Linked DNA regions of Homo sapiens: region 1 is linked to region 2. The links are contacts of gene promoters, found by promoter capture Hi-C in blood cells and fetal thymus (Javierre and others, 2016). All regions are on one chromosome and are shown on one strand. The core of a region is centred on a gene start or on the middle of the fragment in contact, and the rest is flanking DNA. Distances in the headings are between cores, read along the strand shown.

The links. The method cuts DNA at HindIII sites, captures the fragments that hold promoters and counts their contacts. A CHiCAGO score of 5 or more calls a contact.
Region 1: a fragment that was not itself captured here is called in contact with the fragment with the promoter of CPA1 in region 2 in 1 of 17 cell types (endothelial precursors); the score reaches 5.7 in endothelial precursors.

Annotation. Positions count from the first base shown.
Region 1 is chr7:130,688,613-130,693,539 of GRCh38, reverse strand. No RefSeq gene overlaps it. Among named protein-coding and RNA genes, the nearest start is that of TSGA13, 4.5 kb to the right of the region's middle. The HindIII fragment of the contact is 3,861 bases long and covers 1-3,821 here.
Region 2 is chr7:130,376,875-130,381,743 of GRCh38, reverse strand. It overlaps CPA1 (carboxypeptidase A1), which reads right to left and starts at 1,250. Exons shown (of 10, transcript NM_001868.4): 1 at 1,159-1,250; 2 at 565-646; 3 at 1-114. The coding sequence starts at 1,223. RefSeq lists an enhancer at 1,122-1,643. The HindIII fragment of the contact is 6,032 bases long and covers 1-4,599 here.

The DNA.
Region 1 (4,927 bases), core at 642-3,141, 310 kb before region 2:
CTTTTGTGGGTAGACTCAATTATGACATTCAGTTGTGACTCAGTTGTGACACTACATCTCCCCTATCAGGGTAGAAACCTGTAATACTAACAAACTGTCTTCTTTGTTAGACAGAGGCATCTGAATTGATCATATCTATTTTCCTAAATCAGTCTGTCTTACAATTGAGTCCTTGATACTTGAACTTAAAAGCTAAGAATTTGCTACTTTTTTTTTCATATGATTGTTGGCCATGTGTATGTTTTCTTTTGTGAAGTGTCTGTTCATGTCCTTTGTCCACCCTTTTTTTTTTTTGAGATGGAATCTCGCTCTGTTGCTCTGTTGCCAGGCTGGAGTGCACTGGCGCAGTCTCGGCTCACAGCTTCCGACTCCCTGGTTCAAGCGATTCTCCTGCCTCAGCCTCCCGAGTAGCTGAGATTACAGGCACGCACCACCATGCCCAGCTAATGGGATTGTTTGTTTTTTCTTGTATATTAAGTTCCTTATAGATTCTGGGTATTATGCCTTTGTCAGATGCATAATTTTCAGTTTGCAAAAATTTTCTCCCATTCTGTAGGTTGTCTGTTTACTAAATTCAACATCACTTAGCATTAGATAAATGCAAATTAAAACCACAATGAGATATCATCTCACACCAGTCAGAATGGTTATTACTAAAAAGTCACAAAATAACAGATTCTGGCAAGATTGTGGAGAAAAAGGAATGCTTATACACTGTCCTCAAAGACCTAAAGACAGAAATACCATTTGATCCAGCAATGTCATTACCAGGTATATACCCAAAGGAATATAAATCGTTCTATTATAAAGACACATGCACATACATGTTCATTGTGGCACTATTCATAATAGCAAAGACATGGAATCCACCTAAATGCCCATCAGTGATAGACTGGATAAAGAAAATGTGGTACATATACACCATGGAATATTATGCAGTCATGAAAAAGAATGGGATCATGTCCTTTGCAGGGAAATAGATGAGGCTGGAGGCCATCATCCTTAGGAAACTAACACAGAAACAGGAAACCAAAAACAGTATGTTCTCACTTATGAGTGGGAGCTAAATGATAAAAACACATGGACACACAGAGGGAAACAACACACACTGGGGCCTATCAGAGGGTGGAAGGTGGGAGAAGGGAGAGGATCAGGAAAAATAACTAATGGATACTAGGCTTAATATCTGGGTGATGAAATAATCTGTACAACAAACCTCCATGACACATGTTTACCTATGTAACAAGCCTGCACATCCTGCACATGTACCCCTGAACTTAAAATAAAAGTTAAAAAAAAAGAGGAGGAGAAGACATGGGATTTCTCACTGCTGTCGGCAGAGAATGTCTGAATGGGGATGCATATCCACTGCTCCTTCATGTATCATCCCGCCATGTTGGAAACATTCAGAAATTTGCCATGTTGGGCATCTTCAGTCCCAGAGTTTTTCCTGAGACCACCTTCTATCCCTTGCTGTCCATCTTGTACATTTAAAACCTCATTTCCCCCCCACCCAGTTTTGTTTCTCCTTTGGTCCCCATTTTCCTGACACTCCAGTGCTAAATTGAATGTAAGTACTGAGTGGAGAGACAGCTTCCACTTTCGTAAGTAGATTTCCCCACATTTTTAATAGACAAATCTACAGAAAAATTGGATGGCCTTGATTCCTAATTCCCAGATTCCCAGCCTCCTGCTCTTCTCTGTATTCCTCCACTTCTGGCAGCTTCTTAGCTCCCTATTCTTGCCAGAGCAGCTATTGCTGCTGCTATATTCTACTCCTCATAAAATGCATTAGCCCTAAAAATCATTTTCCATTCATTCATCTCTGAATAATGCTAGCTTTGTTGAGTCTTGGTGTTGGTCAATACATGAGATTAATGAATTTATAAACTCTGCTCCTGCTTTCTTACCAGAGATGGAGGGCAGGTTGCTAGGCAAACCTCCCTGCCCAGTCCCCAGTTTCTATCTGGCTTTCATTTTTTGCTTTGCTGGGGAGATAACTTTCTCAAATTCCTACTTACATATTCTCTGGTATCTGAGTCTATGTAGACTATGTAAAATAACAGTTGTAGCATTCACTGTAGTCAGGATGTTGATTTAGGTTGGTGCAAAAGTAATATTTGAGGTGCCAATTACATCTCTTTCCCTTACCGGTTCTGAAGCAGTTAGTAAACACATGCAAAAATCTGGTAAGTTCAGAATATCAGCTTTCTGCTAGAAGTTGGTTTGGAGACTGGCTGGGGCCTGAACATACATTGGGCTTCCTAAAACATCCCCCTGAACTGGAAAGATTTACCCAGCCACTGATAAATGATAGGCCTCTCCTCAAGAAAGCAAGAGCTTCATGTGTCACCAGCAGGCTGTTTAAGAAAGAAAGAGTGGGCCGGGCACAGTGGCTCACGCCTATAATACCAGGACTTTGGGAGGCCGAGGGCAGATCACGAGGTCAGGAGATCGAGACCATCCTGGCTAACACGGTGAAACCCTACCTCTACTAAAAAAATACAAAAAATTAGCCAGGCGTGGTAGTGGGTGCCTGTAGTCCCAGCTACTTGGGAGGCTGAGACAGGAGAATGGTGTGAACCCAGGAGGTGGAGCTTGCAGTGAGCCGAGATCATGCCACTGCACTCCAGCCTGGGTGACACAGCAAGACTCCATCAAAAAAAAAAAAAAAAAAAAAAAAGGAAAGAAAGAAGGAAGGAAAGAAGGAAGGAAGGAAGGAGAGAAAGGAAAGAAGGAAGGAAGAGTGGCTAGGTATAGTAGCTCATGCCTGTAATCCCAGCACTTTGGGAGGCTGAGAGAGGAAGATTGTTTGAGGCCAGGATTTCAAGACCAGCCTGGGCAACACAGTGAGACCATGTCTCTTTAAAAAAAAAAAAAAAAAAGCTGGGCATGGTGGTGCATGCCTGTAGTCCCAGCTACTCAGGAGGCTGAGGTGGGTGGGTGCCTGAGCCCAGGAGTTTGAAGCTGCAGTGACCTATGATGATGCCACTGCACTTCAGCCTGGGTAACAGAATGAGACCCTGTCTGAAAATGCAAGAAAGAAAGACAGAAAGAAAGAGAGAGAGAGAGAGAGAGAGAGAGAGAGAGAGAGAGAGAGAGAAGGAAAGAAAGAAAGAAAGAAAGAAAGAAAGAAAGAAGGAAAGAAAGAAAGAAAGAAAGAAAGAAAGAAAGAAAGAAAGAAGAAGAAAGAAAGAAAGAAAAAGAAAGAATGAAAGAAGACAAAAATGGGGCAAACTACCCTTGCTTGGCATTCTGTGCCACTACCTTTTTTCATGAAGGGTAGATGCTTCTTTCCACACTTCCTTACTTTCCATACCAATACTTCCATAAAGGTAGCCGTTTCTATTTTATAAACAGTTAGAAATGAGAAAAGAGGACAAAACTGTTCAAAAAAACAGTTCCTCCCATCTTGTGCCCTTCCTCCTGCTCTTTGCTCCTGAGGTCACATCTCTCAGAATGCACTGTGCCACCCCAGCACCCTGTCCTCCCTGCCCAGCTGTTACCTGGGGTGTGAAGTCTCCATCTGAATGTGGAAAGTTATGTAGGTGAAGGGATAAGGGGGAGCTGTTCTTAGGCCCTGTCATAGATCAACACCCAAGGAGTAGTAGGCAGGGAGGATCGCCCTGAGTTTTGATCAATGCAGCCCCTGTATCTCTGAAAAAAGAAGACAAACAATGGGGATTCACATTCTCTTTTACCAGATGGTCTCTGTTTCTTCAAGCAAATCCTGGCATTTCCATGAACCCAAGCCTTGTAGGTTTTTTTCAGTCTAGATTTATCTGCCTTATAAGTGGCAGCATTGGATTGCTTATTAAGCTTTTGGTCATTTTTGCAAGTTTTAATCTTTTTCTATACCTTCAAAACTTGCTGCTTGAAGCTAAAAAATTTGTTTCCTTTTTCATAATAGCATCCCTTCCAATGATATCATCCCACCTGTGGCCACTTCCTCCTAGTTCTCTTTCAATCTCTGGCCACTCCTTTTCCATGTTCTTTACAAAATTCATTTATGATGCTCTTTTTTGGATGTTTACATAGTCTGGGGCATGGTTCTATGCTTTAGTCTCTTGTTAGTCCACCATTTTTCCTACTTGATCTTATCTAGTCCAATGGCTTCAATTAGCACATAATGCTTGAGGCTGACTTCCAAATGCATAATTCTACCCAAATGGCTTAGTCTGTTCAGGCTGCTATAACAAAATACCATAAACTGGGTGGATTATAAACAACAGGAATTTATTTCTCACAGTTCCAGAGGCCGGGAAGTCCAAAATCAAGGTGCTGGCACATTCAGTATCTGGTGAGGACCGGCTTTTTGTTGTGTCCTCACATGGCAGAAGGAGTAAAGATGTGCTTTTGAAGCCACTTCTATAAGTGCACTAATTGCCCCCACAAAGGCTCCACATCCTAATACCCTCATAATTAGGGACTCAGTATCAACATATGAATTTAGGGAGGCAGAGGACATAAACATTCAATCTATAGTACCAAACCTGTCTCTCCTGAGCTCCAGTCCCATATTTTAAACTACTTACTAGACAACATCCTCACCTCTGCCTCATACTCAACTGACCAGAAACAAAATTCATCATTTATCCCCCAAACTTGCTCCATTCCCTTTGTTCTCTAATTTGGTAACTTGCACCTCCATTAACTCAGGTAACAAAGCTAAAAATGTGATTATATTCCTTATCTCATGTATTCAACTAGTTACCAAGTTCTATTAATTCTACCCTCCTAACATCTTTCATATATCCTTTTTTAACCCTCTTCACTGCCACTACCTTGCTTTAGAGCAAGCTTGTCCAACCCATGGCCCATGGGCCACACGTGGCCCAGGATGGCTTTGAATGCAGCCCAACACAAATTCAAAAACTTTCTTAAAACATTATGAGTTTTTTTTGTGTGATTTGTTTTAGCTCATCAG
Region 2 (4,869 bases), core at 1-2,500:
CTCATAGCTGATGCCGTGGGACTCCAGAAAGATCTTGACCGCCTGGATGCTGGGGAAGGGCACTCGGACGTCGATGGGGGAGCCAGGGTGGGCAGGCCCCCGCCAGAAGTCCAGCTGGGGAGGACAAGAGCCGGCACGGTCACAGCGGGCTGGGGGCACCAGCCAGGACAGCAGGCAGGGACAGGGCCTGCGTGGGAGGGGCTGTTGGTGCCAGAAGTTCTCATATAATTGGGGATAGGTCAGGGGTAATAGGGCCAGAGAAATACGGGGAAACCCTGGGGACTGGAGAGTCCAGTGTGGTCAGGGAAATGGCCCAGGAGCAGAGTGAGGGGCCTTTGAGACAGCAAGGCAGAGGGAGGAACTGGAAAGGGGCCCGGCCCCTTGCCCAGGTGCTCAAGGGCAGCAAGGCTCTGGAGCTGGGGGCTTGAAGTCGCTTCCTAACAGAGTCAATTCCATGTCTCCTTGTTGGGTGGAGACAGCCCAGGCACAGTTGGCCGCTGGGGACCTGGGGTGGCCCCAGCTGATACCCTGGGGCCTCAGAGAGCCCTTCTCCCCTCTTCTGACCTGCAGGTGCTCCAGGTCCTCCAGCTCCTTCACCTTCTGTACCTGGGCCTCATCGGCTACAGAGATTCGGAGCACCTGATGCCTGGGCAGAGTGGGAGTGGGGAGTGAGCACCCAAGCTGCACCTGCCCTGGCCACAAGCACTCCCCAGGTGCAGGAGGGAGGCAGCAGCCCAGAATCCCCAGACTGGGCCTCGTCCTCTGGGCTGGGCAGGGGACAGCACCAAGGGTCTCAACAAGGAGAGGCCTGGGCTCCCTCACCTCTTCTCTCCCCATCTTTAGAAACTTCTAGACGCTGTTACTATCTCAATCCCAGTTTGGACTATTTCTCTGTTCCAAGCCAGCCAGGCCTCCTCCTTTCTCCTCTCCTGAAAACTCCTCCTCAGAGCTCAGGTTTCTCCAGGGCTCAGGAGACTGTCTTGGGAGACACAACCTCTTCCCAACCCTGGTTGCTTATCTGCCAGCTGTCCCAGGTGGTGCCAGGCCATCCTCTCTGGCTGTGTTGCCATGTATCTGTCTGTCTGTCTCCTCTACTGGTTGGGGGCTGAGTCCTCCCCATCACCCTCAGAGGGCACCCCCTCCTCTCCACATCCCTACCCCACAAAGTCCTCCTTGCCAAAGACAGCCCCCAACAGGACACTCAACACCAGCAACCCCCGCATGCTGCTGCCGGGAGGGAAGGTCAGACTGAGGTCGAGACGGCCCCCTGGCTTTTAAACCCTCCCAGGACCGAGGACTCCTGGCTGCTCCCGAGGTCTGTTCTCCCCCAGCACCTGGGTCCTGTCCCACGGGGAGGCTGGGGTGGGAGTTCTGAGCTCTGACACCCTCTCACCCTCCATGATAAAGTGGCAGGGAACTGGGCAGCTGGAGAGATAAGCCAGAGCTCCACCCCCGACCATCTGGGGCCAGCGGGGCCTGAGGGTCAGCGGGGGCTCGAGGCCTCCTGGAGTCCCAGCCAGGACTCTGCCTGCCCACACCCTAAAGCTGCGGTTCTGTTTGCCCACTGGGTAGCGGAGAAGGAGCCAGGACTCCAAGCAGCCACTCCTGCTGGGGCCTCATTCCAGGCGTCTCCTTGTTCCGTGCTCCTGAGTGCCAGCCTTTCATTCCGGTGATCGAGCAAGTGGGGCTTCTGCCCTCTCTTGTCCCCAAGGCAGCTTCAGGCAGGCCCAGGCTCTCCCCCATTAGACCTGTGTGAAGCACAGATACCTGCGGAGTGCCGGACACCTCCTCCTCCCACGGACCCTGATGCCTTGGAGAGACCAGCAGGGTGGACTAACCTTTTGCGTCGGTTTGGCCTGTCACCACACCGGCTTTGTCCAGGCTGCCCCGGCCCTGTGCGGGGCAGTCCCTCTGTGGGACTTCCCAGCCCCCTCCTGCTGGCCTTAGGGTCCTGTGGGAGTCCAGCCCGGGCAGCAGCAGCAGGGTCAGGAGCCCAACCCTTGCCAGCATTTCCCTCCACCCCCACCAGTACAGGGCCCCGAGGTCGGGGTTGCCCTTCATGGGAACAGTAACCAGATGTCGTCTGAATAGCAAGTGTGGCGGGGGGAGCCAGGGCCAGACCCCTGTGAGGACTGCACAGTGTCCAGGAGAAACTGGAACCCACACAGGGGAATTCACTGGGTTCTGGATGCTGATCTCACCCTAGAGACAAATCCATCACAAATCCCACAAATCCATCCTCATTCACGGGCCCCCCAGGGCTTTCCCAGCACCATCTAGAGGCTCTGCTCTGTGTCAGGACCCCGACCTTGGGCACTGGTGAGAGCCATAGTGCCCGTTCTAGTTTCTATTCACTCCCACTGCCTCCTACCCTACCCCCTAGCTGGCCAACCCTCCCACACCAAGACAGAGTGACCCCCTTATATTTATCCACAACTATCTCCCAAACCTAACTCTAGGAAGGTGAGAAAGCCCTAAACCCGCTTTTAACAGATGTGGAGCCTATGCGGCAGCTCCTGCTCTCCCCTGTACAGCCTTGCTGGCCCCACCCGCCTCTGGCAGGGCTGCAGTGCTCCCTGGAGCTTCTTCTGGCTGCTTCCTGGCTCACCTGTCTGCTCCTTCTCTAAATGCTCACCCCTTTGTCGATGTATTCAATCAATACTTATTCTTCTGGGCCAAGTACTGTGCTCCACATGGACACGACACCCAATACAGATGTTCGCTGACCTCAGGGAGCTCACGGTCTAGGCGGGAAGACAGAAGTAACCAACTAACTTGTTGGTCCTCTAACAGGTCCTCCAAGAAGCTGTCACCAATAAGGGATTAGACGTGCAAAGGACTTTTGGGGACTGTTCTCCTCCCTGCAAGAGACCTAAACAGGGATGTGATGTGGTATGAAAAGTACCATGAGGGCTAAAAGGACACACACTATGGCACAAAGTCCAGGGAAGACTTTACCAAGAAGGTGACATTTGACCTAGGCCTTTTTTTTTTTTTTAAGACAAGTTCTTGCTCTGTCACCCAGGCTGTGGAGAGCAGTGGCACCATCATGGCTCACTGTAGGCTCAACCTCCTGGGCTTAAGCGGTCCTCCCACCTCAGCCTCCCGAGTAGCTGAGACTATAGGTGTGCACCACCACACTTGGCTAATTTTAAAATTTTTATTGTAGAGATGGAGTCTCACTATGTTGCTCAGGCTGGTCTTGAACTCCTGGGCTCATGCAACCCTCCCACCTTGGCCTCCCAAAGTGTTGGTTGGGATTATAGGCTTGAGCCCAGCTTAACTTAGGTCTTATGATAGGATTTTGCCAGGTGGGGAAGGGTGTTCATCACGCTATTTAGTGCTTGAACACAAACTTACATTGATTTCTTCTTCGTTGCTCCTAAAATGTTATTTTTGTCTCTCCATGGAGACTGTAAACTTCCTTAGCTGGGCGTGGTGGCGCCTGTAGTCCCAGCTACTTGGGAGGCTGGGACGGGAGGATCTCTTGAGCCTGGGAGTCCAAGGCTGCAGTTAGCCATGATTGCCCCAGGCTGGGCAACAGAGTGAGATCCCATCTCTCTAAAAAGTTAAAAAGGAAATTAAAACATTAAAAAAAAATTAAATTACCCCAGGCCAGGAGCCATGTCTTCCCTACTCCTCATTTCCTGGTGCCCCACAGAGTCCTCGGGCTTCTCTACCCTGCTCCCCATGGGGAAGGAAGGTTTTGTAGGGTCTTTATTTAGTTTGCATTATAAAAACAATATTTCTTTTTCTATTCCTAAATATGAAGCTGTCCTATAATTTTGAATCTCTTTTGCTCACACTACACATGTTGGGGGATGTTGGCTGGTTCTTGGGCCTTCTGTGAATTCCTTCCAGAAAAGACGACACCTCTGAAAAAGAGGGCGGCCTGGGGGAGAGGGTGCAGACTCACCAAGGGAGCCTCTTGTACCTCCAGCCAGCAATTTACGATGCCCAAGAGTCATATAATATATTTTTTTGCAAGGCTGGAAAGGATGAATTCGATGCTACAAGTTCAGCAGAAAGTGGGCAGCATCATGGCAGAGGAATTTGGGTCTCAGGTGCGGGCTAAGCCTCATGCTTCGGGCCCCTCCCGGCCACCTCAGGAAGCCAAAAATGTACCTCTTGGTAAAGGCCAATTTGCTGGAATGTAACCTAGGTCAGAGGGCCTTCCCACTCCATGTGATGGTTTCACATTGGTCCAAGCAAGGCAAGGGCAAACATGGAGGCCACTGGGCCGAGGGCTGGGTAAGTATAGCACCAGGACCTATCACCATGAGAAAGAAGCCACCAGGCTGGGATCTAGATTCAAGAATGAGTCACGGGCAAGTGCCAGAACGCAAACAGTGGGAGGCCTGCAGCAGCCACGCTGACTGTGGCCCACAGCATCCCTCCCTGTTTCTTCCCTGCTAAATAAACCAGATTGTATGTCGGCATCCGCCCCCAGAAACACTGCCATTGCCAGCTCAGGGACAAATTCTGACTGGTCTAAGACAATTGAAGAGATCTCATTGGCTTTTGCAAGTCACTGGTTTAAAGGTGGGCACATGACCCAGCTTTACCAATCAGACATGAGAGGAGGCCCGTGAGGAAGCTTCTAGAAAAGGTTGCCCCACTCCCCAAAAGAGGGCACCTTTTTCTGGATACTGTCAGGTCTGTTGCCTCACCTTCAGACTATATATGTATATATATATGTTTATGTATATGTTTAGGTCTATATATATATATAGGTCATATATATATGAAAGAATATACATTTCTTTTTTGTTAGTTGGAGTTTCTGTTGTTGAAAAAAGCATTCTAATTGATGCACCTATTAAGCTTTTAAAGTGTTTGTATTTTCAGAAAAGGGGACCAATTCTAGCC